4 separate regions of the Homo sapiens genome follow, and all the other regions are linked to region 2. The links are contacts of gene promoters, found by promoter capture Hi-C in blood cells and fetal thymus (Javierre and others, 2016). All regions are on one chromosome and are shown on one strand. Each heading gives the region's core, a stretch centred on a gene start or on the middle of the fragment in contact. The rest is flanking DNA. Distances are from core to core; before and after follow the strand shown. Region 1 overlaps TMEM260 (transmembrane protein 260). Region 2 holds the start of FBXO34 (F-box protein 34). Region 3 has its middle 110 kb from the start of TMEM260. Region 4 has its middle 86 kb from the start of TMEM260.

Evidence for each region. The method cuts DNA at HindIII sites, captures the fragments that hold promoters and counts their contacts. A CHiCAGO score of 5 or more calls a contact.
Region 1: a fragment that was not itself captured here is called in contact with the fragment with the promoter of FBXO34 in region 2 in 7 of 17 cell types (fetal thymus, neutrophils, naive CD8 T cells and 4 more); the score reaches 10.3 in fetal thymus.
Region 3: a fragment that was not itself captured here is called in contact with the fragment with the promoter of FBXO34 in region 2 in 9 of 17 cell types (fetal thymus, neutrophils, non-activated CD4 T cells and 6 more); the score reaches 19.8 in fetal thymus.
Region 4: a contact is called between a fragment that was not itself captured here and the fragment with the promoter of FBXO34 in region 2, in 1 of 17 cell types (fetal thymus). The highest score is 6.2, in fetal thymus.

What each region holds. Positions count from the first base shown.
Region 1 is chr14:56,580,065-56,586,384 of GRCh38, forward strand. TMEM260 (transmembrane protein 260) reads left to right here. Exons shown (of 16, transcript NM_017799.4): 1 at 1-10; 2 at 4,937-4,968; 3 at 5,697-5,848. Among named protein-coding and RNA genes, the nearest start is that of TMEM260, 3.4 kb to the left of the region's middle. RefSeq lists a silencer at 1-21. The HindIII fragment of the contact is 4,901 bases long and covers 1-3,833 here.
Region 2 is chr14:55,268,144-55,275,344 of GRCh38, forward strand. It overlaps FBXO34 (F-box protein 34), which reads left to right and starts at 3,278. Exons shown (of 2, transcript NM_017943.4): 1 at 3,278-3,394. FBXO34-AS1 (FBXO34 antisense RNA 1) reads right to left here and starts at 3,935. Exons shown (of 2, transcript NR_184222.1): 1 at 3,739-3,935. RefSeq lists a silencer at 3,330-3,829. The HindIII fragment of the contact is 2,090 bases long and covers 2,711-4,800 here.
Region 3 is chr14:56,470,940-56,477,302 of GRCh38, forward strand. No RefSeq gene overlaps it. Among named protein-coding and RNA genes, the nearest start is that of TMEM260, 110 kb to the right of the region's middle. The HindIII fragment of the contact is 3,945 bases long and covers 1-3,911 here.
Region 4 is chr14:56,490,294-56,496,597 of GRCh38, forward strand. No RefSeq gene overlaps it. Among named protein-coding and RNA genes, the nearest start is that of TMEM260, 86 kb to the right of the region's middle. The HindIII fragment of the contact is 1,437 bases long and covers 960-2,396 here.

The DNA.
Region 1 (6,320 bases), core at 133-2,632, 1.3 Mb after region 2:
GGAGACTCCGGTAAAGTACTCGCAGGGTTGCCCCTTCTGTCCCTCTCCCCTGGTCCCAGAACGGGCAGGGTCTGCGTCTGGCCCCTGCTCTTGGCATTCGGTCTGGTCAGCTCTGGGCCTCCATCCACCCCCCTGTGCACAGCGCACTATTGTGTGTTCCAGAGCCCACTTCTGTTTCCATTCCTGTCGTTGTGGTTTCTTTAGTTCTCAGGTTTTCGAGATGGGGCGTATTGTTGGTTTCGCCTGGTGGGGCTTATCGACCTCTCCACTTCCCCAGATCTTTTATCCTGGTCCTGAGTATTTACTTTCAGTCTTTTTTAGTCCACAGATATTATTCACGGTGTCCTTATTATGTTTCAAACAAAAGAACAGTAGTGGCGAACAGATAATTGCTAGTGTTCCAGTGCGGTTAGACAATACACAAGTTAATGAATAAACAGCATATTCACTGGTGATAAGTTATGGAGACAGTAGGAGGGAAATATGATTGAGAGTGGGGGTAAGTAGTGGGTCCTTCCGAATGACTATTCAGGAAAGACCTCTGAAGAGGTGGTGTTTTAGTTGAAACCTGAATATTGAGAAGGAACTAGCCATGCAGAATATTTGCAGGAGAACTCTTAAAAAGGTGGAAGCCAGGTGCGGCTGTTTCTATGAAAAAGAAAAGCATGACTCATTGGCCCTTAAATCACACTAATTGTTTTGTATTTGATGCAAGAAACAAGATCCATGTTTTGTTTTTGGATTCAATAATGCCATATCATGGCCAGTAATTTTGTCAGAATAGTGCTGTAATTTCAGGTGGTGAACCTATGGACTGAAGAAGCAGTTTTTGCTGCATGACTAGTGATCCCCAAATTGAGCAGCTTAAACAGCAAACGTTTATCGTCTCCCGTTTTTGTAAATCAGGAGTCTGGGTGCCGTTTAAGCTAGATGCTCGTACTCAGAAAAAGGTTGCTGTCATGGTGTGCGATGGGGCTGCGGTCTTCTCAAGGCTCAATTTGGGGAGAAACGCAATCTAGTTCTTTGCTATGTGGGTCTCCATAAGTTAACTGACTTCTGTCAAGAAAAAGATGAAGGACACCTCTCTGTCTGACAGCTCTGTCATTTTGTAACCTAATACTGTAAGTGATATACCACTTCTGCATTTTATTCCTGGAACTTCGTCAGTAAACCCAACCCATATTCAAGGGGGAAGGATTACACAGGTGAGAATATCAGGACTTGGGGATTAGTGGGGATCATATTTAGGGCTGCCTACCACGTTGAAGATCTTTGATGTTACATCTTCAAATTGTTACCTTTCTTCTTTCAGGTCCTGTTGCACAAGTAGGGATAGTGTTTCATTCGTGTAGTAGGGAGTTTCTGTACAGTGTTACCAAGATTGGTATTTCATAATGGAAGTAACTTTATAGTTGTGAGTTTTGGTGCTGGAGAGCATTATTCAGAGGTTAGGTAGTTCTGTTACTTGTAAAAAAATAAAAAGATTGACAGCTACTTATGGTTGGTTGAGTGTGAAGGATGGGAGTGAGATTTATAATAACTGACGTTTGTTGGGCACTTACTATGTGCCAGGCACTGTTCCAAGTGCTTTATATGGGTTGTTGTTTTAACCCTCCCAGCTACCCTTAAAAGTAGGTGCAATTATTATTTTCCTTTTATAAATGGGAAAACTAAGGCTAAGCTATGCCCAAAGTCACACAAAGTAGAGAAATCAGGAAAAGAAAAGTATATTGACTTCAGAATATGCCCCCTTAACCTCTACTTTTCGTCAAAACATTTCATGAAATTCTTTTCTAAATCCACCATCACATATGTAGTGATGTTTAAAATTTATTTAAAATCATGATTATTGCCTTGCCTTTATTAATACTGTATTTTATTTTTTCCTAAAAGAATAAAGTTGTGTATTCACCTTGAGTTACCAAACTTTAGGTGCTTTAATTTTGTTTGGTTTGATGTTAAATAGTGGTTGCTTCTAATATTTTTATGTTCATTTTTGGGAATGATAAACTGTTTTCCAAGTATATGCCAATATGGAAAATTTGCTTTATCGTATATTTGATAATTGTGTTTACATGTTGAATGCACTATTCTTGAATGTTTATGAATTATATTTTCATCAATAAACAGAACACATCTCAAAACCAGTATAAAGCATGTATTCTTCTTCCTGATAAGTCTTACATTTTACTCCATAGATTCATCACATTGTGTCGTCTTGCCAAAATTATTTTTTGTACCACTTGACACACACAGTTCATTTATGGGCAGGGTGCTTGTGGTGCTTTTCGGGGAGGGGGTAGGAATCTGGCCTTCACTAAATTAGTTTGTACGTGAGTTTATTTCAAAGATACTGTCTTTAACAGATGTGATGTGTGACAGTCTAGTCTAATTAATATTGAGAAGTATGATATAAAGGGAGCTGGTTTTTGTAAAGGTTAAGCATCTGCTGACAACTCTGGGCTTGCCATTAGTTTGTATTGCAGACAACAAAGCCGTGGTTCTCAGACAGGAACGTACTTCAGAATTACCTGGGAAACTTGAGCCCCCAGTGCAAGTGGGTCTTAGTAGATTATGGAATTTGGAGGTGTGGGCAAGGAATCTTCATTTTTAAAAAGCAGGTTAATTCTGATGCAGGTAGACACAACTGAGGAACCTTTCATGTAAAGGGTTGGGAGAAAGCCAAGACTCGGGAAGCTCGAGGTTTTTTTACTATTCCCTTCCTCTTTATCACAATCAATTTAAGAGTAGTATTTCCCTTTAGATCTTTATCAAGGTTACATTTAGAGACGTTGAATGGGGACATCTTTTCTATTTCGATTTTAGTTTAACATTTGATAAGAATTGATGAAAGTTTGTCACATTCCAGATTTATCTTTATAGCAGCAGAAGTCTGGCAAATAATAACAGCACACTGACTTTTCCATGGTAAAAAGAAGTTAGAGAAAAACAGCCTATTTTTCTTAATGTTAAATGTAATTCTGAATACATTTTAAATGGAGGAGAATGAATAGTGACCTTTGAAATTTTGAATTTATGGTGGCTTCGTTACAAAAAGATTACAGGAACAAAAAAATCGAAAATAGTTTGGAGCTAAAGACTTAAGAGCTAATCCATTATGGAGTAAACTATAAAATCATATCCTTTACAGTAGTTAACAAAGGGAACAGTTGTTTGAGACATTGTGAGACCATAAACTATTTAAAAAGAAGCATTTAGGATATAAAATGTGCTGGTTTCTCAGGTGCTCTTGAATATCTCTTAACAAATGTCCTTAAGTAATTGACTTAATCTGTCTTCAGGTGCCCTTATAAGGCTTCCATGATGCAGTCACCTAAGACTGGGGTGTCTTAGTAGCAAGGATGACAATGTGATGTGTATTTTTGTTAACCTCTGTGTGTATGGCTTGAATTGATGCTTTGTGTGTGGCCAGAGGGGAGAGGTGGTGGTATCCTGGCACGATCGTGAAATGGATAGGATAATGTTTTTAAACTTAGTGGGAGAGAGAAATGAAAACCAACCAGAATATAAGGCCATCTAAAGTGCTAAATAGACTCAAGCAGGTTCTATGGAGGAGGAAGAAGTGATTAATTCTGATGGGGAGGCTGGGGAAGCAGGTGTCTAAGGAAAGGTTACCAAGAAGGTGGCAATTGAACTTGGCCTTGAAGGATTTAGGGGGAGAATGCTAGGGAAAATATTCCAGGGTGAGAAAATGAGTGAGAAGAGGTGCAAAAGAGGACCACTCCAGAGAAACAGTGGGTAATAAGATTTGACTGGAGGGAACATAGGTTTCATGGATATAAGCCTAGAAAAGGGACCTTGAAACCATAGAAAGCTTGAACGTCATGCTGAGGAATCTGAACTTCGTTCAGTAAGCAGAGAGCAGCCATTGAGAAATTTTAGACTAGGGATGCAATCCAGCCTTTTGTGTGTGTGTGTGTGTGTGTGTGTGTGTGTGTGTGTATGTGTTTAGGGGCATGGGGGAAGGCAGGTGTTGATTATAAGTGATTTCAGTATGAAGATGAATTGAAGTAGGATTGGTCAAGTCTGTTGCCATAGTCCAGGCCAGAGAGAGTAAAGGTCTAAATTGTAGCTGGGACAGAAATTAAATGCAGAGTATTGCTATCTATGAAAGGATAGGAAGTGGACAGTAGTACATTTCCTAATAGGTACTAGTAACTTTCATGAGTCATTCATCAATATTGATTCCTTACATTGTACGGTACTACAATGTACAGGGATGAGTCAGAAATAGTCCCTGTGCTCTGAATACGTAAAAGGTTAACAAATAGGCATCAAATTACTGCATCATAATTTTAGAAATAGTCACTAATGGTGAGGAACTATAAAGGACTATGTAAAGAATATTATTTAATGGTTTGAAAAAATGTCTTACAGTGAACCTTACCGAAATAACGTGGAGTTAATAAACACTTGGAAATCATTTAAAGATATCCAGTGCAATTAATGTGGAGAAGATACCCAAATGCCAGTTTTAGGGTAGTATGGGACATTTTATGGAGTGTCCAAACCTCAGATGTCTGCGCATTTTACCTTACTATAAGGTTGTATCTTTATAGACTTTCGTGCTAATTTCTTGAGGGATAATAAAGCATATTACACTAATGCTCCAACAGTATTTGTATATTTGCAAGTGGATACAACTTTCAAGAGGGAAAATAAGCATTTTTTAAAGACCAGAATGTACCTATATTTCCACTGACCACTTCTTAAAGACTATCAAAGATAGTTTGTTCAATAAGACCTAAAGGAGAAAATATTCTTAGACTATTTCATGCTGTTAAATCTCTACAGATTTACAGTTTTATCCAGTCAAATTAATGCAAAACCCCAATGCAAGCATTTGGATTTTGAAAACTTTGGAGGAGTGTCATTCTCTAATAGTAATTATTGGTTTTACATTATTTTTTCACAGGGGAACTGATCACAGCCGCACATGAGCTTGGAGTAAGTATTAGTTTTATTGTTTAATCAATGCTCTCATTAACAGTTTTAGGAATTAAGAAAGTTTAATTAAGCATGGAGTAAAGTAGATTAATTTATTTTCAAACCCCCGTTTTTAGTAACTTATAAGTACAGTACGTGACAATTTACTTTAAGTTTTAAATCCAATTAAACTAAATTATAAAGCAAAGCCTTTACTATATATACAGTAGCTGCCTTATTATCACCCCAAATTTTGTATAAGCTGTGGGGAATAAAATAAATCGGGTTAACAGTTTTAATAAGTTTATTATTTAATAAACTTTATTATGGTGCATGATCCCTTCAGGCAAGACCTTACGACTGTCAGCATGGTGGTAATCCGATAGCAGTGTGGTCTTTCAACTTTCTAACCAATACGATATTTCAGAACCTGCTTTTTTTCAATAGCCTTTTAAATGACCCTAATGTACTGTGAACCCAGAGAACAAACTGCTTAAGAACTGACAATGAAATATGTCACCCTTTCTCTGGGTGACGCACCATGTGATAGACGCTGCCAAATCCACTAAAGAAAATATTTATTTGTATTGCCTCAAGAGGATTACAATAGAAAACCACTATTCAAACATTTAGTCATTGGTGCCTAATCTTTATAGCTGCTTGAGAAAAGGGCTACTTTTCAATTAAGGCCTGTGGGACTCTTCCTTTCCTAGATGAAAACCTTCTAACTGTTGCTAATTTTTCCGTAGGTTGCCCATCCTCCTGGCTATCCTTTGTTCACGCTGGTGGCTAAACTGGCAATTACACTGTTTCCTTTTGGTTCAATTGCCTACCGCGTCAATCTTCTCTGTGGCTTATTTGGAGCAGTAGCTGCATCATTACTTTTTTTCACCGTTTTCAGGTAAAGTAGTTGATTAGTTAAAATTAATTTTGAGCAGTTGGAGATGTAGATTTCTTATGGCTCAAGTACATACATTAAAAAAATCTTTTGTTGCTTGGTTTCCCTAACACATGTGATTTCACTTTCTTAATTTATAATACTTTCATATGCATTTGACCCCTCAAATGATTACACAGTTGGTTTTGTTTCCTACAGTGGAGTGAAGGTGTCACCAGTTCATTATCACAGTTCTCTGATTAGGCAGAACTAATGAGGTTTGTCATTTTGTGAAGATGCAGATGGGCCAGTTTAATTCAACAATATGAGGTTCATCTTTTGGTAAATGGTAAATATCATTTAATTATTCACAGTATTGCTGACGAGCAGCTGCCTATCAGGTCCAGGGCTAATACCTAATTATATTGTATTCTAAATATGAACATGTTGTATACTTTCTGAAATAAGGATATTAACTAAGGAAATCAATTTGGGA
Region 2 (7,201 bases), core at 2,028-4,527:
AATAACACAGTCAAGTAGGTAGGGAAAGGCATTATCACACCCAGCGGCCTAGGTTCTGCAGCAAAGTAGGTCTAGATGCAAAGTCTAATGGAGCCTGTCTCTTGGTTTCCTTTCTCCAGCAGCGGGGAAGTAAGTTTGATAAGGAGGGTTGGGGGGTGAGAGAGAGAAGATGAAATGGTGGGTGTCCTAGTCTGTTTTATGCTACTATAACAGAACACCTGAGACTGGGTCATGTATAAAGAACAGAGATCTATTTCTTACAGTTCTGGAGCCTGGGAAGCCCAAGGTCAAGGGGTTCATAACTCTTGAGGGGCTTCTTGCTACATCATCCCATGGTATAAGGTGGAAGAGCAAGAGAACACCTAACAGAGTGAGAGATAGAGAGGGCCAAGCTTGCTTTTATAGTAACTCCCTCTCTTGATAAGTAATCCACTCCCTTGATAATGGCATTAATCCATTCATGAGGACGGAGCCCTCATGACCTAATTGCTTCTTAAAGGTCCCGCTTCTTAACACTGTTGCATTGAGGATTAAGTTTCTAACACATAAACTTTGGGGGACACGTTCAAACCATAGCAGTGGGTGTTTTTATTTGGAGGTTGGAGTAAGCTTATTAAGGAATAAGCAGTAAGTTCTTAGTTTTTTTTTTTTTTTTTTCTGAGCAAAGAACAGAAATGAAACCAAGTCTATACAAGACAAATCCCTTGAACTGAGTTTTAATTAATATGTTTGCTGGCTTGAAACAACTAAGTTTTAATTACTAATGGAATAACCAAATATATATACTATATATATTTAGAACTTTTCTGCTGCTGTGCCACCTCAGTCTTGTTCTTCTTTCGGCTCTCACCAGTCCCATGGCCTCAATGTGCCACCCCATGCCCACCTGGGGAGCACCTTCCTGAAGACCTACCACAGGACCTGTGGGTTGATAAACTATACTGGCTCTACTGGCTTTGCTTCTAGGGGATCATTGCCATTATACAAATGGAGAAACAAAATCAAGGGAAGTTCTTGCCTAACATGGTTATGCTCTCTCCTAGTTCTTTTCTCCTAGACTGGGGCTATTTAAAGTGTGGTTCACTGGCCAATCTGAGACAAGAACTGAAATTGAGAATCAGATTTTAGAAACTTTACTAGCAATTTGACAGAATAATTTTATGTCTGTGGACTTTAATAATCAATAATTCATAGGCTAGGCATGGTGGCTCACTCCTGTAATTCCAGCTATTTGGGAGGCTGAGAAAGGAGGATTGCTTGAGGCCATGAGTTTGAGACCACCCTGGGCAACATAGTGAGACCCTGCCTCAAGAAAAAGATGAAAAAATATAATAATTAATAGTTCGGGCTTTTATTATGTCTTTTAAAATTAATTTCATTTTTATATCAATTTTTTGAGTCCTCTAATCAACAGGAATCAAGTTTTGTTTGTTTTTTTTTTTTTTTTAGATGGAGTCTCACTCTTGTCGCCCAGTTAGGAGTGCAGTGGTGTGGTCTCAGCTCACTGCAAACTCCACCTCCCAGGTTCAAGCGATTCTCCTGCTTCAGCCTCCCAAGTTGCTGGGACTACAGGCGTGCCCTGCCACACCGGGCTAATTTTTGTATTTTTAGTAGAGATAGGGTTTCACCATGTTGGCAAGGCTGGTCTTGATCTCCTGACCTCAAATGATCTGCATGCCTTGGCCTCCCAAAGTGCTTGGATTACAGGCGTGAGCCACCATGCCCAGAAGGAATCAAGAGGTTTTAAGAAGGACAGTGTTTGAGATGAATCTGAAAGGATAAACTGAAGTTTTACAATTTTGAGCTAACTATGACATAAAGAAGCTTCAAATGATCATGATATATTGAGCTAATATTGCTCACATATTAAATCAGACATACAGTTTGATGCCACGGTGTACCATATAACACCCTTCCTTAATTTTTTTTTTCCTTTTTGAGATGTGAGCCACCGTGCCTGGACTTCCCCTCTCCAATTTTTATTAAAAATATGTATATAGATAAAGGTCTAGATGGAGATACTGAGTGGTTATTTCTTGGTGATGAGATTATGGGAAATATTTTTATTTTGTTTTTACGTTTTAATATTTAAGATTTTACACATATATTTTACAACAGTAGTTTTATAATTGGACAAAATTATTTTTGTTAAGGACTGGCTAAAATCAAAGTTGCTGGTTTAAGTGTAACTTGGTACAACCTTTTAAAAATCATTTGGCAGTTTGTATTAGTAACTGTGAAAGTGTTGATAGTCTTTTTCACCTAGTAATTTCACTTTTGGGTATCTTTAAAAATCTACATTCATGAAGATGTTCTATGATTTCTTTATAATGGCAAAAAGTGAATGAAGGAAACAAGTTATGTCCAAAAATAGAGAATTACTGCAGTAAATTTTATGTCCACTTAATGTAATTTTATGCAGCTGTTAAACTGGTTATGAAGCTTATGTGGAAATATGAGGAATGCTTATAAAAGTGAAAAGAGGATGCAAAATCGCGTACAACTACTATTACAGTGTAGTAAAATATATGTGATGGGGCAAAAGGTCTAGAAGAAAATACATTGTCCTCATGTTTTTCAATGTGGTTAATATTATTTTCACAATGAAAACAATAATAAGCTTAAAGATTGGGAATCAAAAGTTCCTCACTGGCCCTCTGATTTGAATATAAAGTGTTAAAAATTTATATCCATCATTAACCAGCCCTTAAGCTTCTACAGACTTTAACAGTTTCGTGTCAGCCTCAACGTTTATCTACTTTCTGACCGGTATCCCTGCCATGATTTTCATAGGAAAGAGAGTCAGAAGGGACCTTTCCAATTTTGTCATTTTACAAATTGAAACTCTGAACCCCAGCCTTCCAAGCTAGCAGCAGAACCAGTATGAGGATCCAGGTCTACTAGGTTATCTAATAGTATCTGAGACCATTTACAGCTTCAGGTCCACCCACGAATATTCATAAACTTGACATGTCTGCTGATTGAACCCTGGCGTCACTACCCTTCTTGGCTGGCCTGGGAGGTTTGATTCCTTTCCCTACAGTCGTGCTCAAACTTTCATTCTCTACCACTTGGGGGCCGCAGACGCGTCATCCAGGTCTCCCTTTTCACTTCCCCCTTCCCGCCCCCAGTGTCCGGCAGGGGGCGCCGTGAAACTCTGGATCCGTGGCCCCTCCCCCGGCCAACCGTCGATTGGGCCGGCGCGTGACGTCACTCCGTTTTAGCCAAACAAATGGGTTTCGGGGCGAGCGTTGGGCGCCGCCGCGCCGCGCTGGGTGCTCGGTCCGACTCAGCGGTGGGGAGTGAGCCAGGCCTCCCGCCACCGCTGCTGCCGCCACCACTGCGTCGGGCTGGTGCAGCCCCGGGCCAGGCCGCGGCCGGGGCAGGAGCGCAGGTGGGTCCGGGCCGAGGTGGGGCGTGGCGCGAGGGCCGCGCGACTGGGGTCCGGCGGCGGCCACCGTGGCCGCTCCCCGCCCCCTACCGCCGCCTGCCTGCGCTCCCGGGGCGCGGGGCGGGTGGGGGTGGGGGCGGGGGCGCCGCCCGCGGGTCCGGGGTAGGGACCCGGCCGCCTGCGCCTCCTCCGGTGCGGCTCTTTCCGCGCGCACGGCCCGGGCGCTGAGCGTCCCCGCGGGCCACGGAGGGTCGGGCGGGTAGGGAGCGGGGTCCTGGGTCCCCGCTGAAGCCGAGGAGATTCACGGATAGGCCGTGAGCTTGCACCGGACCGGCGCTCCCACTTACGGGACCCAGGGCGGTGAGGAAGTCAGCCTCTGGACTGGGGTCGCCTCGCCCCTGTCGCGCCCTCCCGGGCTCGGCCACTCTGCCCTTCCCTGCCCCAGCGCAGGTGAGCTGGCGCTTGTCCTTAACCTTCTTCAACGACGAGGCGGGACGGAGGCTCGGACGCCTCCCCAGCCTCTGGGCTGGCGCAAGTCGACTGCGGTTCGTCCTCAGTCCACGATGAAGTCATAGGGCTGTGGGTCCGTGTGTCTGTGACGTCAGAAGATGGGTCCTGGGATGTCACTGCAGGCCCGGGCGGGGACCTGGGCTCACGGAAGGGCCGGGGGGACCCGCAGGGTAGAAAAAGGAAGTTGTCTTCCACGAACGCTTGGAATCGCAGTGGATTTGAATCGAAAGTTGTTCGGTATCAGCATTTTGCAATTTTAATGTAATAGTTGTCAATTTCTTTAACTTCTTGTCCAGCAAGCGTTGCGAGTACAGCTCAGTATAAGACATTTGATTTAGAAAAACTTAAGTCAGGGTAGGAGGTTTTTTGGAGGGTGTAATGTAAAAAGCCTTTTAGGAAGCTAAATTCGTAGTTTGATAGTTTGCAATCAGAATTACTGAAAAAAAAGAGAACCACTTCTAGTGTTGATAAATCAGTTTGCTTTTTTTTTTTTTTTTTAACTGGACATCTATCTGCTTGTTAGCATTTTTTGTTAGAAAATGGCCAGGAGGAGGGAGAGTGGATCTTACATGATTTTTTTTTTCTGTTGTAAAGGGAGGGAGGAGTTTGAATTAATCCAACATTTGTCTTAAATAATAATTACCTGAGGAGTTAATTTATCCAGGTTGTCCCTATCCCACCCTATGGTACCATGCTACCACCCCATGCTACCATGGTTTAGAAGTCAGCAACAAGCTGTTTTCTTGCTTTCTTACTGAGACCCGGCTATAACTTAATATAAAAACATATTCCAGGACCGCTTGTCTGGATAGGTAACTAAAATTTTGTCTGTAGTGCTTTTAAATATGAAATTAGAGAATAAAAAAATGATTTGTCTGTGAATACTGTTTTTCTTCCAAAGCTTTCAGAAGAGATCTAACTGGAAGAGAAGCTAGTCACTTTGTCATAGTGACCCTCTTCGGGTATTCCAGCATATCAGTACTTTTCATTTCCTCCTCTGTAGAATAATGTAAATGGAATCTAGTTCAAAAGGTAGATGGCTTAAACTTGAAGCATAGTTAGTCTTTAGCAGGAAGCTTGGGTAGAAGTCCTTAATCCTTCCTCACTGACCTTGACTTGTAATGGTACGGTTTTTTTTTTTTCCTCTCTCTCAATACTTCCTGCTCCCCATTTGCCTTTTAGAGGTGATTGATAAGATACTGTCTCTCTGGGTTTTACATCAACATGCAGATGGAAGTTATGCCCATTTTCAGGCAGGAAATAAAAGCAAAAATTTACCCGTTAGGTACTATTGGATTTGACTGGAAGTTCACAAAACAAGGCTTTCCTGTACATGTTATTTTGATCCTCACCACAACCTTGGGAATTTGACAGCATTGTGTGCGCTACTGAAAGTTGTTCTGGTTTTTTCTTCCTTCTTTTAAGAAATGAGGAATTTTATGCTGACAGTGTTGAGTGAAGTCTCTAAAGATACAATTTTGTATACAAATTATTTTTCGTATGTACAAATTTTGTATACAAAATTTTGTATGAAAGATACACATTTGAGCCTTTGGATCACCAGAGACTGAGAGGCACTTGAATTATTATGCAACTGCTGATATTGAGAGTGTTAGTCAACCTTTAAGATGAAAGAATCTTGGCAAGATACTATGTAATGCAATTGAAGGAGGTCCAAAATGGACGCTTGCATGTGTCTTTCCCGAGCGGTAGCGATTCTGGGGCCGGCTACACGGCTGTATGTAAGTTAGGTGTACTAGTTTTTTTGTATGTTTTTTTGAAACAGAGCCTCGCTCTGTCACCCAGGCTGGAGTGCAGTGGTGCGATCTCGGCTCACTGCAACCTCCGCCTCCCGGGTTCAAGCGATTCTCCTGGCTCAGCCCCTCGAATAGCTGGGACTACCGGTGCGTGCCACCATGCCCGGCTAATTTTTGTATTTTTAGCAAAGACGGGGTTTCACTGTGTTGGCCAGGCTGGTCATGAACTCCTGACCTCGTGATCCGCCCACCTCAGCCTCCCAAAGTGCTGGGACTACAGGTGTGAGCCACCGTTCTCGGCCAGGTGTGCTAGTATTAATGGGAAAGGATGAAAGTCAGACTAAATAAGAGTTGAAAGACCTGCAGCTGATAAGGAGATACCTGCTATTCGGCAGTGCATTTTTCCTCTCTATTTTGCTTAGCAGTTAGGAAGTTTTTATTTTTCCTCATGGAAAATGAGTTAATAGGTGAAGAATAAATGTCATAGTGCATACTGATGTGACTGAGGGACAACGACAGATATTTAAAAAGCCAGCTTGTGAGTGTTGTGTAATTATCTAACAAGCCAGAACTCGTGTGAAACATTTTTACAGTCTGTTTCTATTTTTGGCAGGATCTTTTTCACCCATGCTTTCCAGTTTTGGGTCTGGGAAGCAGCTTTTACTTCATATAAATGGTTTTATGGAAATTAATTTTGAGATTGGTTTATTATTTTAAGTCATTTTATTCACTTATATAATTTGAAGGCACTAAATTAAACAGTCATTCGTTATCCATCTTTCTGATGGATAAAAGCAAATGTCAAGATGAGAGTGCTGTATTGTAGAAATTCCTCAGGATATGTTTATTGGATCAGTTATTTTATTAACATTTAGAATTTAAATTCTTAAAAATTTTTACTTTATTTTTTAAACTTAATTTATGTTCAGCTAGCTTAATTTGACAGTTTTTATGTTCTAGTAACTTTAATCTTGTTTTAATATTTGTTTGGGAGAAAACATACTTATCTTTAGAGACATCATTTAGTGTTATCTTCCAAAATTTGCAGCTGTTTAGAACCAGATACTTGAGGGAAGCTACTATGGTATGATGAATGCCTTCCTTGTTAGGTCATGTGTGACAAAGGCAAAATTCAGCAAGTGCATAATCTGCAGTCCTTTGGAAGCAACAAAAACAAAAAAGAGCAGATTAACTCGAAATGCATTTAGGTCATCTGGAAATTGAATTCCTGTCAGTTCTTATCTTTGCATAATTTATCTTCTCCCCTTTAGTTAATGCTTATGGTATTTTGAAGCTGATGACATACTTTATTTTCCAGGAGAGCATTAATACAGTGTAGTTGTTTGTTAGTGTTGGTTAAAAGAACTTATCAACCTTTCATTCCCACCTCCATCTTCTAGTTAATGCTCCACAGAAGAGGCTCTCAGTAATCCATTTTAAAATATTCAGCTTCAGAAACCTAACATGTACATTTCCTATCCTCAGTAGAGTATAGGTGTAAATATGAAACTAAGTGCTATGTAAGTGTGGTTATTGCATTATT
Region 3 (6,363 bases), core at 689-3,188, 1.2 Mb after region 2:
GTCTTTAGGAACCAGTGGTGGCAGTGGCAGGCCTGGTGTGCCAGTCCTTGGAGGCCTGGGAGGTGTATGCTGGCACTGGCAGTGGCAGGTCCAGGCAGGCACATCCTTGTGCCTCCAGGCGGCTTGCTTAGGTGCAGGCAATTGCAGTGGTGGGCTGGGAAGGTGTGTTCTCAGGCGCCTGGGAGATGTGCATATGGCGTCAGCAGTGGCAGTAGCAGTGGGGGGCCAACCTTCAGGCCCCTGGGTCACTCACATGGGTGCCAGCAGTGGTGGCAGCAGGCTGAGCAGACCAGTCACCAGGTCCCCGGATGGGAGCTGGCAGCGGCAGCAGCAGGCTGGGTGAGCATGGTCCAGGGGTGCAGCAGCGGGTAGGATGGGCCTGTCCCTGGACAGTGTGTGCAAGCTCCAGTAGCGGCAGCAGGTGAGCCTATCCCCAGGACCCCAGATGGCATGTGCATGGGAGCTGGTGGTAGTAGCTGGGGCGGGCCAATCCCCAGGCATCCTGACAGCTTGTGCAGAAGTGTGGTGGCTCTGCTCCTGGAGGGGCTAGGGTTGGTGTCAGTACCGCAGCCTAGGGCAGGAGGCTCTCAGGCTCTGGGGGGCACACATTTTGGCTCCCTTGGTCCCAGGGGCAGCCTCCGTGGTGCACTGCACCTGTTCTCTGGGGGGTAGGACACTGTGTTGACCAGACTGCTGGGTACAGAGCTGTGCCACTGGGACTCACCACAGTTGCAGTACTGTAGCTCTCAGGTGGACATGAGAGATCCCAGTGTGGCGCTGGGAATATGGAGATGCAGGGGCTGTGAGCAGCCAGGACAGGATGGAGTCTGGTGAGGGCTGCGCTCTCAAAATATTATTGTGCTGCAACTGCTTGGGTAGGGGAGGGGGATTGGGACCCAGCACAAAATCCCCCCGCAGAACAATGCCGTTATGTGGCCTCCAAGCAGCTCCCATACTAGTCTCAGGGCCCACAGGGGCCTAAGGGCTTTCCCATAGCCAGGATTGCAGAGTTCACTGTGGGAATGTGGACCACTTTGGATCTCTCACTTATCTTTCGCCTGCCATTGGGAATTTCTCTTGGCTTCAGGATGCTTCGCTCCCCTCTCCTTACAAGCCTCAGAAGTGCTCTGTCACTCTCTTGCTCAATTCTGGGGTTCTCTCTTGAAGTTCTGTTCGAGGTATGGTTATCTTCTTGCTGTTTTGGTCCTTCTTGGTGGAGGGTCTGGTGCCTGGTACCTCTAGCCCGCCATGTTCCCATCACTTATCCTCCCCAGCTTTTAAAACAGTTTGGAGGGTTTAGTGGTAATCCTTTTGTTTTTGCTGTCTGGCCTGGAATCCATTAGCTTGGGTGGTCCTGAATCTATATTGTTAAAAATCTATATGTATCCTTTTCCTTGCATCAATAACAGATTTTAGAAGTTTTTTTCTTTATTTCGTTTTTTTCATTTTTAGTTAGAAAAGGATATGGTGCTAGCAGCAGGATAGAAAGAGATAAAAGGCATTCACACAGCTTTTTAGGAATAAATGCCTGGAAACTCTCCAGATTTATCAATTGCATGGTTCCATTTTTATGAGAGTATTTTTAAAATTCTTTTATCATATAGGAAAGTATTTGATGTTATATGTTTTCCAAGGCACTTTTAGACACCTGATCTCATAAGATCTTTATAAGGAGCTTATTATTATGCAGAGTGTGTATTATTTTCTCTTACTTTCTTCCTTCTCTTTGCCCACCCACCCACCACAGTCTCCTGCCCTGAAATTTAATGATGATAACACTGAAATAAAGCATAGCCAGAGAAATCCCTAAACTGGCACAGCAGGCCAGTGGGGGAGCTCAGATTGGATCTCTGGCTTCCTAACTCTTAGTCCAGTGGTCTTTTTCTTTGGAACTGTAAATAAATTCTTCCACCAATGTCCATGTCATTATTCTTTGCTCTCTATTTGCCATGATCTATAGTTTTGGTGGCTCAAAATACATTATCTTCCTGGGACTGGCTCTACCAAGAGCCAAGGACATTTGTGTTGGAGCTAGCAAGGGCCACAGTTAAATGGGTGAATGAACAGGCTGGATGGAAGGACTGTGGTGGAGGATGGAGATGCCAACCTTTCTCAGAACATGAGAAAGGTCTTCCTGTGTCCAGAGTTCTGTCCATTGCACTCACACACTCTTTCCTGGCTCTCCTCTTTTCTTCTCTGGCTACTTCTGTTTTGTTTGCCGCCATCCTTCTCCACCAGGCACCTAGTGTGAGTTCCCCAAGGCTAGTCTTAGTCCCCATTTCTTTCCCTATACTCTCTTCATATGTGGATTCAACCAGGCCTTTTCTTTTCAAATGTCATCTACATGCCAATGGCTCCCAAATCAATTTCCACTCCAGACCTCTCTGTGCTCTGTCCCTTCAATGTAATTATGGACTTAATATTTCTACTAGGATGTCTCAAATTCTCAGAATGTTTCAGATAGAACTTAGGATCTTCCCTCCTCCCCCAAATTGGTTTTCCTCCAGAATTTCCTTTCTACCACACCCCATTGCACAAGTCAGTAATCCTTGGAGCTCCTCTCTCCCTCACACTCTATAGTCTGTATATAATCATGTGCTCCCATCGGGTGACTTTGACAACTTCCCACTCCATTAGCCCACCCCCTAGTCTAAGCTACCACCATCTCTCACCTGGACTGCAACAGCTTCCCACCTGTTCTACCCAAATCCACTCTCGTCCCTCTCCTACTCATTCTTTACACCAAAGTCTATGTTGTGCATCACTGTTCAACCCCCTGACTCCCTGTGCTGAGGCCGCACTGGTCTTTTAGTTCCCTGTAGCAAGACATGTTCCCATGCCTCCTCTCCACCCCCTCCCTACCCCACAACCACCATCGTCACAGGGCCTTTACTCATGGTCTACTGTATGCCCAGAGACTCCCCACCTCCAATCCACACACATACACAGCCATCTAGTTACCTCCTACTCATCCTTCAGACCTACATCACTTTCCCAGACCCAGGTCATGTTCCTTCATTAGAAACTTGTCTCCAGTCATGTTCTGGACATGTGTATCTCAGATTTGTAATTACACTCCTTCACTCACTTAACAGCTCTTTACTAAGCACCTACTTTGTGCCAGGTACTGTCCTAGGCAACTGAATAATTAGTCAAGCAATTGAAAAATAAATGCTTGAGTATTTTCTGTTACTCTCAAGTACTAGGAAACTGAAAAAATACAATATAATTACCACAGGTAATTACATTCTATGAATAATTAATTACAAGTTCATTTCTTTATTTATCTTTTTAATATCATTCCCACTCTAGGCCCTATGTTCAATGAGAGCTGGAACTGTGTATATTCTGGTCGACAAGTATCATCAGCTCTCAGTGTAGTGCTAATGCCTAGCAGGTACTAAAACATTTGGGAAATTAATGAATATTTACATTTGTAAATTAACAAGTGAATGAATAAATATAATTTGAATATTATAACCTGGCTTACATTGAACTTGTGATATTTTAATGTTTAATAAATATTGTGATATACAATTCGAAAACAATTTCATGTGTAGGCGGCAAGACAACCTTTCCCCAACTTGCCCATTAACCTGTAAAAGATGTGAATAGTTACTCCCTTCTCCCCTCACTTTTGAGAAGTGGTTTCCGAAGAGCTAGCTGAACTTTGCTGCCATCTTTTGACCAAAGTTAATACTGCAGAGATAAAAGCTACATTCCGTAGAAATTCTCATTACAGCCTCTGAGTATCAATGAGTTCTAGCTTTGTGTAAAAATGCAAGAACGTGTTGCCACTTAAGAGGAAATACATGGCCACACTCGGTGCCTACTTCTATTATATGTTTCTTTCTTTATTTGCATAGCTATCTTCTATCCACTCTTTCTTCTGTATCCCAGCACCATGGTAAAGCTTAATAAATATTTTTTTATGTGAATATTCTAAGCGAACAGTAAGTGAACAACAATTTAATATCAGGACGTGCAGTGTACAGACACCAAATAGACATTAGTTATTATTATTAACATTATCATTATTAAGACCCTTCCCCTGCAAAGTAGATGACTTCAGGAAGACTCTAAGTTCCTACTTGCTTGTGGACACCTACCCCAAACTTTGTCTCTCTCTCTCCTCTCTTCTTTCCTCTCACCCTCCCCTTCCCTGGAAGGCCCATGAAAATTACTTTTCATTGCTATCTTAATCCCTTAAAATATATAAATACAGGCCGGGAATGGTGGCTAATGCCTGTAATCCCAGCACTTTGGAAGGCCAAAGCGGGCAGATCACTTGAGGCCAGGAGTTCAGGACCAGCTTGGCTAACATGGCAAAAGCACGCTAATAGTTGTCTACAAAAAAATACAAAAATTAGCCAGACGTGGTGGCGCATCTCTGTAATCCCAGCTACTTGAGAGGATGAGGTGGAAGGATTACCTGAGCCCAGGAGGTGGAGATGGAGGTTGCAGTGAGCCGAGATCACACTGCTGCACTCCAGCCTGGGCAACAAAGTAAGACTCTGTCTCAAAAAAGAAAAAAAAAAAAAAAAAAATATATATATATATATATATACACACACATATATATATATGTATATATATACACATACATATATATGTATATATATACACATATATGTGTATATATATACATATATATGTATATATGTATATATATACATATATATGTATATATATGTATATATATACATATATGTGTGTATATATATATATACACACACATATACACACATACATACATATCTTTATATTTTGGTTCTCCATTAAAATTATAAGGCCCTAGTTGCAAAAAAATTGTATTTCAATCTTAGGATCTCCCACAGTACTCAATAAATGCTTATGGACTGCATTGAAGGTCATTTTCTGAAATGAAAGATTTAAAGAGATTTTATTTTGCTCTAACATATTTTGTGTTAAGGCTATACTGGGAAAATTATGACAGGTTCTCAGAAAGCTAGCATCGTTTTAAACTAAATATTTCAAATGATATTCATTTGGAAAATTTACAAAATTGAAAATATGACCTCTTTGAAATAGCTGTAATGCCAGGGAGTCTTTGTATATTGTAAGCTAGATAATAGAATATAACAACCAAGAATCGTGGCAATGTTAACTTCTTTAAACAAAGGAAGCCAGAGAGATGAAAAATTTGGATTGTCCCATGAGAAGTCTGATAGGTATTTGAGCAATACATAGACCTGTTTAAAAGAACAGATATACCTTGGAGTCCTTGAGGGGCGTCTGTAGCAGAATCTGGTTTCAGGAAAGTGAAATTGTTGGATAACTCATGAAAACAAAAACCATGAAACAAAGAGGTTCATCATCTGTTTGAAGAAACAGAGGTTCATCATCAGTTTGAAATTAGCCCTTTCAGCATAATGGGGAAATGCTGCAGCTGAAAGAGAAACCCTTTCATTCCACACACATGCCTGGTATATATTAGGTTGTCAGCAAATACCTATTGAATTGAAGAGGACTTTGATTAGCCACGTTCTTACCTTTCTTTACAATTCACTACAGTTCAGCTCCTGGTGATTTAATAATTCTAAATGCCCAAATTTAAACATCCAGTTTTAAACAATTGGTTCTGGATGGGCATGTCAAGGAAAATGATGTTTTGTAGTTTGCTCTGCCATGTATGACTGAGAAAACTAAACAAAGCAGTTGAACAGCTATGTGGATGATGTTATATTTAGAAGCTATATTGCATGTACTTTTTACTAATTTTACTAAAAATATTGCTCATTTTCATTTTCACACAGAAGCATATTGAGGATCGGATGCTATCTTTGGTCCTCAGTGTGGGGTAGCCTTGCTCACCAGAGATAGAACAATTTTGTTTTAGGGAAAATTTTCCAGTCCCACTGAACACATATTCAAAGCAGTGAGCTACACCACCTCTGTGTTTTTCCTGGCTCTTGCATGAAATAAAATACCTGCTCACAATTTCCTGTGCTGACAGATTAGGGATAAAATGTCTGAGCTCAAGGAGAAATGGGAAAACCTGCTGGATTGGATTGGTCATTTGGGAAGACTAACATAGGATACAAGGCACCCGCTTAAAACATCACCTGGCTATTTTAAAACCTTTCTGCAGGTCAATGAGCTAAATGGGAGTTCTATGTAGAGGATAAGAAACTATTCATTTCTCTCAGGCTTAGCTTTTCAGAAAAGCCCTCAAAAAAAAAAAAAAAAAAAAAAAAGTCCCTCTACTTCGAGTGCACTAAATCCTCTTGGTGACTTTGGTGAAAGAGACATGAAAGAGCTGATGAAGGCAAATGTGTTTCAGATGGAAAATAATAGCTCTTGGAAAGCAATGCCTGGTGAACATCTGGTGTCCCTTTATTC
Region 4 (6,304 bases), core at 428-2,927, 1.2 Mb after region 2:
CTCAATCTAAAGTATCTACTCAACCACTGTCTTCCACATAACTCTATTTTAATTCTCTCCAGGGCATATATCACTAAGATTTTTCTTATTTAAGTTTTAATTTTCTGTATCCCCCCATTAGAATATATGCTCCTTGAAGTGAAGACACTGGCTTATCTTCTTTGCTGCTGTACCCGGGCAGAGCCCAGAGCTGTACATGGCACAGAGTAGCTGTTCAATAACCCACTGAATGAATGGAGGCAAATTCATCCTGCATTGGATTTATATCACTATTTATCATATCATGCCGCTAGAGGGCAATACATCACCTAATTAGAATGAGGAAATCAGTGTCCCTTTCTTCCAAAAGGAACTTAATTGATTTTTAAAATTTATATATATGAGGTGTACATATTTCGAGGGTACATGTGATAATTTGATACATTCTTATAATGTGTAAAGATCAAATCAGGGTAATTGGGATATCCATCACTTTAAATATTTATTCTTTATGCTAGGAACATTTGAATTATTCTCTTCTAGCTAGATTCAGGTGTATGATTGAGCTTAATTGATTTTAATCATTAATGTGACAGACATTTATTTAAGAAAAACACTCTGAAAAGGAGCCACTAGCTTTTCAAACCAACCACCAGGCACTGCCCAGGAGAAAGAAGTTTTTTCCAGGGTTATAAGTGGTAAAATAGTTTTAAATAGACTCTGTATTATTCAGGTTAAAAAAAAACTCATATAAAATGAGAAAGCATTCATGTCCATGATATGAAATTGTTTGGGAAGTCAGAAGGAAATTAAACAATGCCTTATTTTATCCATCTTTTACACACATACACAAAAATGTATTTCTTGGCCACTATTCTTATTTTTGCTTTTTAAAGTTCGAACCCTGGACATCTCATGGGAGTAGGGATTCTGAAAGAGATTTTCTTTTTTTTTATTTTTATAATTCCATTTCTTTCCTAAGCTTTTCTTTTAAAGTAAGCAGCATGGTGTGTCTAGGATATGTCATTGAGTGCTAAGACATCCATGTTCCTGCTGACAGGTCTGCCTCGTGGTAAGAACAGCGAGAGTGACTAAGCTCCAGTGATAAGGGCAATGCTGTTTCTTGAGCCTGCTGCAGCACCTGTCATGGGAGGCAGAGAGAGCATGCAAATCCCTCAGGCCCATGTCTGTTCAATGACAAAAGGAAGGAGGATGCACTATTCCCAGTGACCTCAAGATGGCAGTGGAGAAATACTCCAAATGAATTTCCTGAGGTCACCCCCCGATCCAGCGAAGGACCACTGTAATGGTTGGTTAGCTATGAGGACAGTTTCAGCGCCACATCGGGTCAGTTACCATGACAGCTGGAAAGCTCTCCTGGAATCTATGAGTTTCTAGCTGTCCTGTCGCCAGAGATGACAAGTGACTTATAAAGGAAAAGTTTGAGCCTCCCTAGAAAAACCTTAAATTTGTTTTTAATGTTGCTGACATGACTTACTGTGGCAGAAAGGCTTCTCAGTGTGAGTGCCTATGGCCATGGGATCTTGATTGGTCAGATGAGGCTGGGACCTTTGCATTTCCAGGGCTTTGCTGGAGTAGGAGAGTGGCCTCAACTTTTCTCAGCACTTAGGAACAATGAGAATGGTTTAGGGCACCTACCATGGGCTTTGGGGGATGTATTAGTCCGTTCTTGCACTGCTATGGAGAAATACCTGAGACTGGGTAATTTATAAAGAAAATAAGTTTAATTGGCTCATAGTTCCACAAGCTATACAGGAAGCATGGCTAGGGAGGCCTCAGAAGACTCACAATCATGGCAGAAGGGGGAGGGGAAGTAGGCTCTTCTTATGTGGCCAGGAGGAAGGGAGATGTTGGGGGGAGGTGCTACACACTTTAAAACAACCAGATCTCATGAGAATTCACTCACTATTACAAGAAAAGCGAGGGGGAAATCCGCCCCCATGATTCAACCACCTCCCACCTGCCTCTCTTCTAACATTGGGGATTACAATTCAAAATGAGATTTGGGTGGGGATACAAATCCAAACCATATCACAGAAGGAAATAAGATCAGCTTTTGCTTATTTCCTTAAATTTTGTTGAGTACGGCAGGGTCTATTGAATCCTCACATCTAGTACAATAGATTACCAGCAGCTCAGGAAGAAGGATGCAAAAGGCATGAGAATGACCCCCCTCTGGCCTCCTTCAAGGAGGTGAAAGAACATTATCTCCTACACCCGTGTTCCAATTTTCAACCACAAAAACACACATATGTATGTGCATTAGCAAACACTCACTTGTTGAACACCTACAAAATAGTTATTATACTCATGGAGTCAAATGGAAATGATGCAGAATTAAAGTTATGAGAGGTATCAACAAAACGTTATTGAGAATTCAAAGGACAAATGCCTAAAGCTTTGATTAAGAGGAAATTAGGTAATATTTCATGGAGTAAAGACTGGCCATAAAAGACTGAGTAGGATTTTAGGTGGATGGAGTTGGGTGGTGAAAGGGAGGGCATCGCAAACCAGAGAAAGAGAATAAGCAGAAGTATGAAGGGAAGATCACTCTGAGTGTGTCCGATATAGATAGAGTACAGGCCTAGTATGGGAAGTAGCAGGTGATAAGGCTTTAAAGCAGTGGTTCTCAATCAGGGGAGATTTTGCCACCCAGGGGACATTTGGCAATGTCTGGAGACATTTTTGGTTGTTATAACTAGGTGAGGGTATGTTATTGACATCGGGTGAGTAGAAGCCAGGGATACTGCTAAATACCCTACAATGCACAGGATGGCTTGCCACAACAAAACTTATCCAGCCCCAAATGTCAATAGTGCCAATATTGGGAAACCCTTTTTTCGGGAAGATTGGTCTTGGTCACAGAAGACCTTGAAAATCAGGGGAAGGGAAGGGAGCTTACTTGGTAAGCAAAGAGAGTACAGAAGATTTTTAAGTGGGAGAGTGAATGTGTTGATATTATGATTTATGGGCATTATATGGATATAGGTACAAATATAACCTTTTCCCTCCCTCATCTTCTAAGGAGAAACCTTATTGGCACTACTTGGCTAGCCAGCCTTTGCTGTGCTTAGAGGGTAATAGGTAGAGATGCAGAATTGCAGAAGCCCAGGTAAACTAAATTAATCTCCATGTAAAAGGACATGGAGCCTCCCAGAGAAGAAAAAATGCAAGAGGTGGAGATGAGAGAGGCAAGAGAGATGAGTGAGAGAGTGAGGAAAACAGCACAAGATGCAGTTACAAAGAGGGAGCATCAAATTAGGTCCTGTGGGGAGATGCTAAAATAAAAAACCTTGCTTCTGCCCTTACTGAGCCCACCATCTCCTAAAGATGATGATCTTACATTAAGTAAGTCCCTATTATTCACAGAGGAAAGTATACAGTCATCTCTCCATTTGCCGGTTCCGCATCTGCAAATTCAAACCAACTATGGGTTGAAAATGTTTTTTAAAAATAACAAAACAACAATAAAAAATACTACAAATAAAAATACAGTACAACTATTTACATAGCATTTACATTTTATTAGGTGTTATAAGTAATCTAGAGATGATGTAAAAGTTATGTGCAAATACTGTGCCATTTTATATAAGGGACTTAGAGCATCCCTGAATTTTGGTATCTGCAGGGATCTTGGAACTAATCCCCAGTGGATACTGAGGGACAACTGTGTGTATTTTCACAAGGCTTTGTCGTTTCTCGGAGCTTTCACTGATGAATAAAATCTAGGTGATCTCAACTCAGGGGTAAAAGTCATTTTTGGCTGCTTTCTTTGTGGGTTTTTCTTACATAGAGCATGAAAGAAAAAACTCACCGAATCTATCCAAGTCTAGGATTAAATTATTTCTGTCTTTCGGGCTGAAGATGGATTTGATGCTGATGACTAAAGATAGCCAGTTGCCCCTTGTTACAGGTGGGTCCTCACAAATTTGGCCAGTAGAAAGCTGCAGTGGAGACACTGTTAAGACTGCAAGAATATCAGTTCCTCATGTCACAGTCAGCTGCTCTGGTCCATGCACCTCTGCCAACTTCCAGTGGCTAATAAGCTTTTGGCCCAGTGATGGAAGCAATGGTGCCAATGACAAATATAAACAAGGTCCTCTGCCAGGAGCAAAAGCTGAAATCTTTCTGGTAATTGCAGCCTGACATGTGCATGGCCCCAGGATCGTGTGCCATCTCCACCACAGTCATTTACTATCTGTCGTGGCTCCAGGGACCTCATACAACATAATGGCTGCCATGGACACCGCATTATCCTGAATATGCCAGGGCAAAATGACATCATTCTTTTTGTAACTCCCCAGAGTTGGGAATGAATGGATATTAGGAAGGACATCCACAGAGCTGGTCAGTCAAGAATGAAACCTATGCACCAAACTGAGAAAAGCTGTTGATAGAGGAATTTTAAAGAAGGAATAGGGAGAGGACTACTTCTCTGTTTTTAGCTGGAAGTTCTATCATGTACAAATGCTTTTGATCACTACTTACAGCATGTCCAGCAATGATGGCTTGAAAATGGGAGATTATTGTATGACAAGAAGTCCTATGCAGGAGGATTTTCTGGTTATAACAACTGCTCTATCATGCATCAAGGACATAGGTTATATATGTCTTTTCTGTCCTTCATTCTCAGTAAGTTGGATTTTAGTTTTTATTGTTTCATGGTATTATTTCAGGTATCATATTTAAGGTGGAGGCAAGAAGAATGGGAAAGAGGTGGTGCCAGCCATTCTGCCCCTTCTTTCAGGAAAGGAGAAACTTTTCCCATTACATTTCATGGACCAGAACTGGGTCATCTGATCACCCCCAGCTCTAAGGGAGGCTAGGAAAATGAGTGTCGTCTAAGAGCAAAAGGATTGACGTGACCAGTCACGGTTCATCTCCAAGGGCGGGCTGTTTGTTATCACAAACAAAATTAGGATTCCATTAACAAGAAGGGAAGGGAGTTATTGGGTAGACAACTCACAGTGTCTGTCACAAGCCCTTGCCATCCCAGACTTGCTGGCTTGTGAAGTGTGGTCTTCAGGTGGTGTGGGATGGAAACACAATGGGCTCCATCACTGTTTGCAGGTGTTCCCCTTGCTGTGCATGCCTTTCTCCCCCTCCTTTTCTCCTTTTCTCTTCTGAACTAACTTCTCCTTATACCCAGGGCTATGTTCCTAGTGAATTTCTGCTCATCCTCAGGCTTCTACTGAACTCATCTTCATGAGCATTTCCTGGCTCTACCTCTCAGTGTTAAGCAGGCCCATCTCTGGCCTCATGACAAACTGTGTTGGCATGTATCACACTGAATTGTAGCTGTCTGTTTTCTTATCTTTGCTCACCACTAGATTGGGCTCCTTGAGGAGTCTTATTCATATATGTCATATTCATGTTTATGTCCCCAAGACTGGGCACAGAGCCAGGCACGTAGTAGTCACTTAATAAACACCAACTGAATCAGTGAGAACCTCAGCGAGTTTTGCTGCATGCTATAATTCCTTAAGAAATAGTATTTCTGGATAAAACACACACAGAGAAAACTTCATTATTTGGGGATTGTGAAAGAACACACTTCTTAAGGAAGAGGTGCCCTGTCTCAAAGTGAAGATGCTTCTGCCTGGTGTTTCTACCTGTGTGTGCTGGCTTCCTGTATAGCCAGGCCCTTATTTACCCCAGCTCCATTTGTTTGCCTACCCCAGCTCCCCAAATGTAGAAGTGAGATCACCCTCCCTCATGGGCCATCTCTGGGAAGGCAGTGTTTCATTGGGAGAGCCTAAGCTTTGGAGATTTGACTCTGCCATTATCACATTCTACTAAAGAGCAACACAAGTTAGCCTGTTAACTAGCCTCATTAAACTTCAGTTTGCTCATTGGTGAAATATGACAATAACAGTAACTTCAGAGGAGTATGTTGAATATGAAATGACATAACACATGTAAAGTGTTTGGCACGTGGTAGCTGCTCAGAAAAGCATTATGATTAGTGACTGCGTCTTGGATCTTTAATTATATGGTTTTATCAGTTCAAAGTTTCCTTATTTGCAGGTGATTTCACTACCCTAGAACCAAAATGAACCATGTTACACAAATGAAGTTGGGAAATTTCTTCGCTCCGTATACGCACATATGTAGACAGCTCCATATCCCACAACCTCGTGATAATGAAATCCCTCGCCTCTAGGAAACATCACAGAATATCAGCTTGGGAACACTGTGTGTTTTGCATGTCAATCTTGTAAGCATGAAGACCTACTTATAGTAAGGTCATATGTGTTCTATAATGTATTTGAAAGATTTCTAACTTATCACCTATTTATTCTTC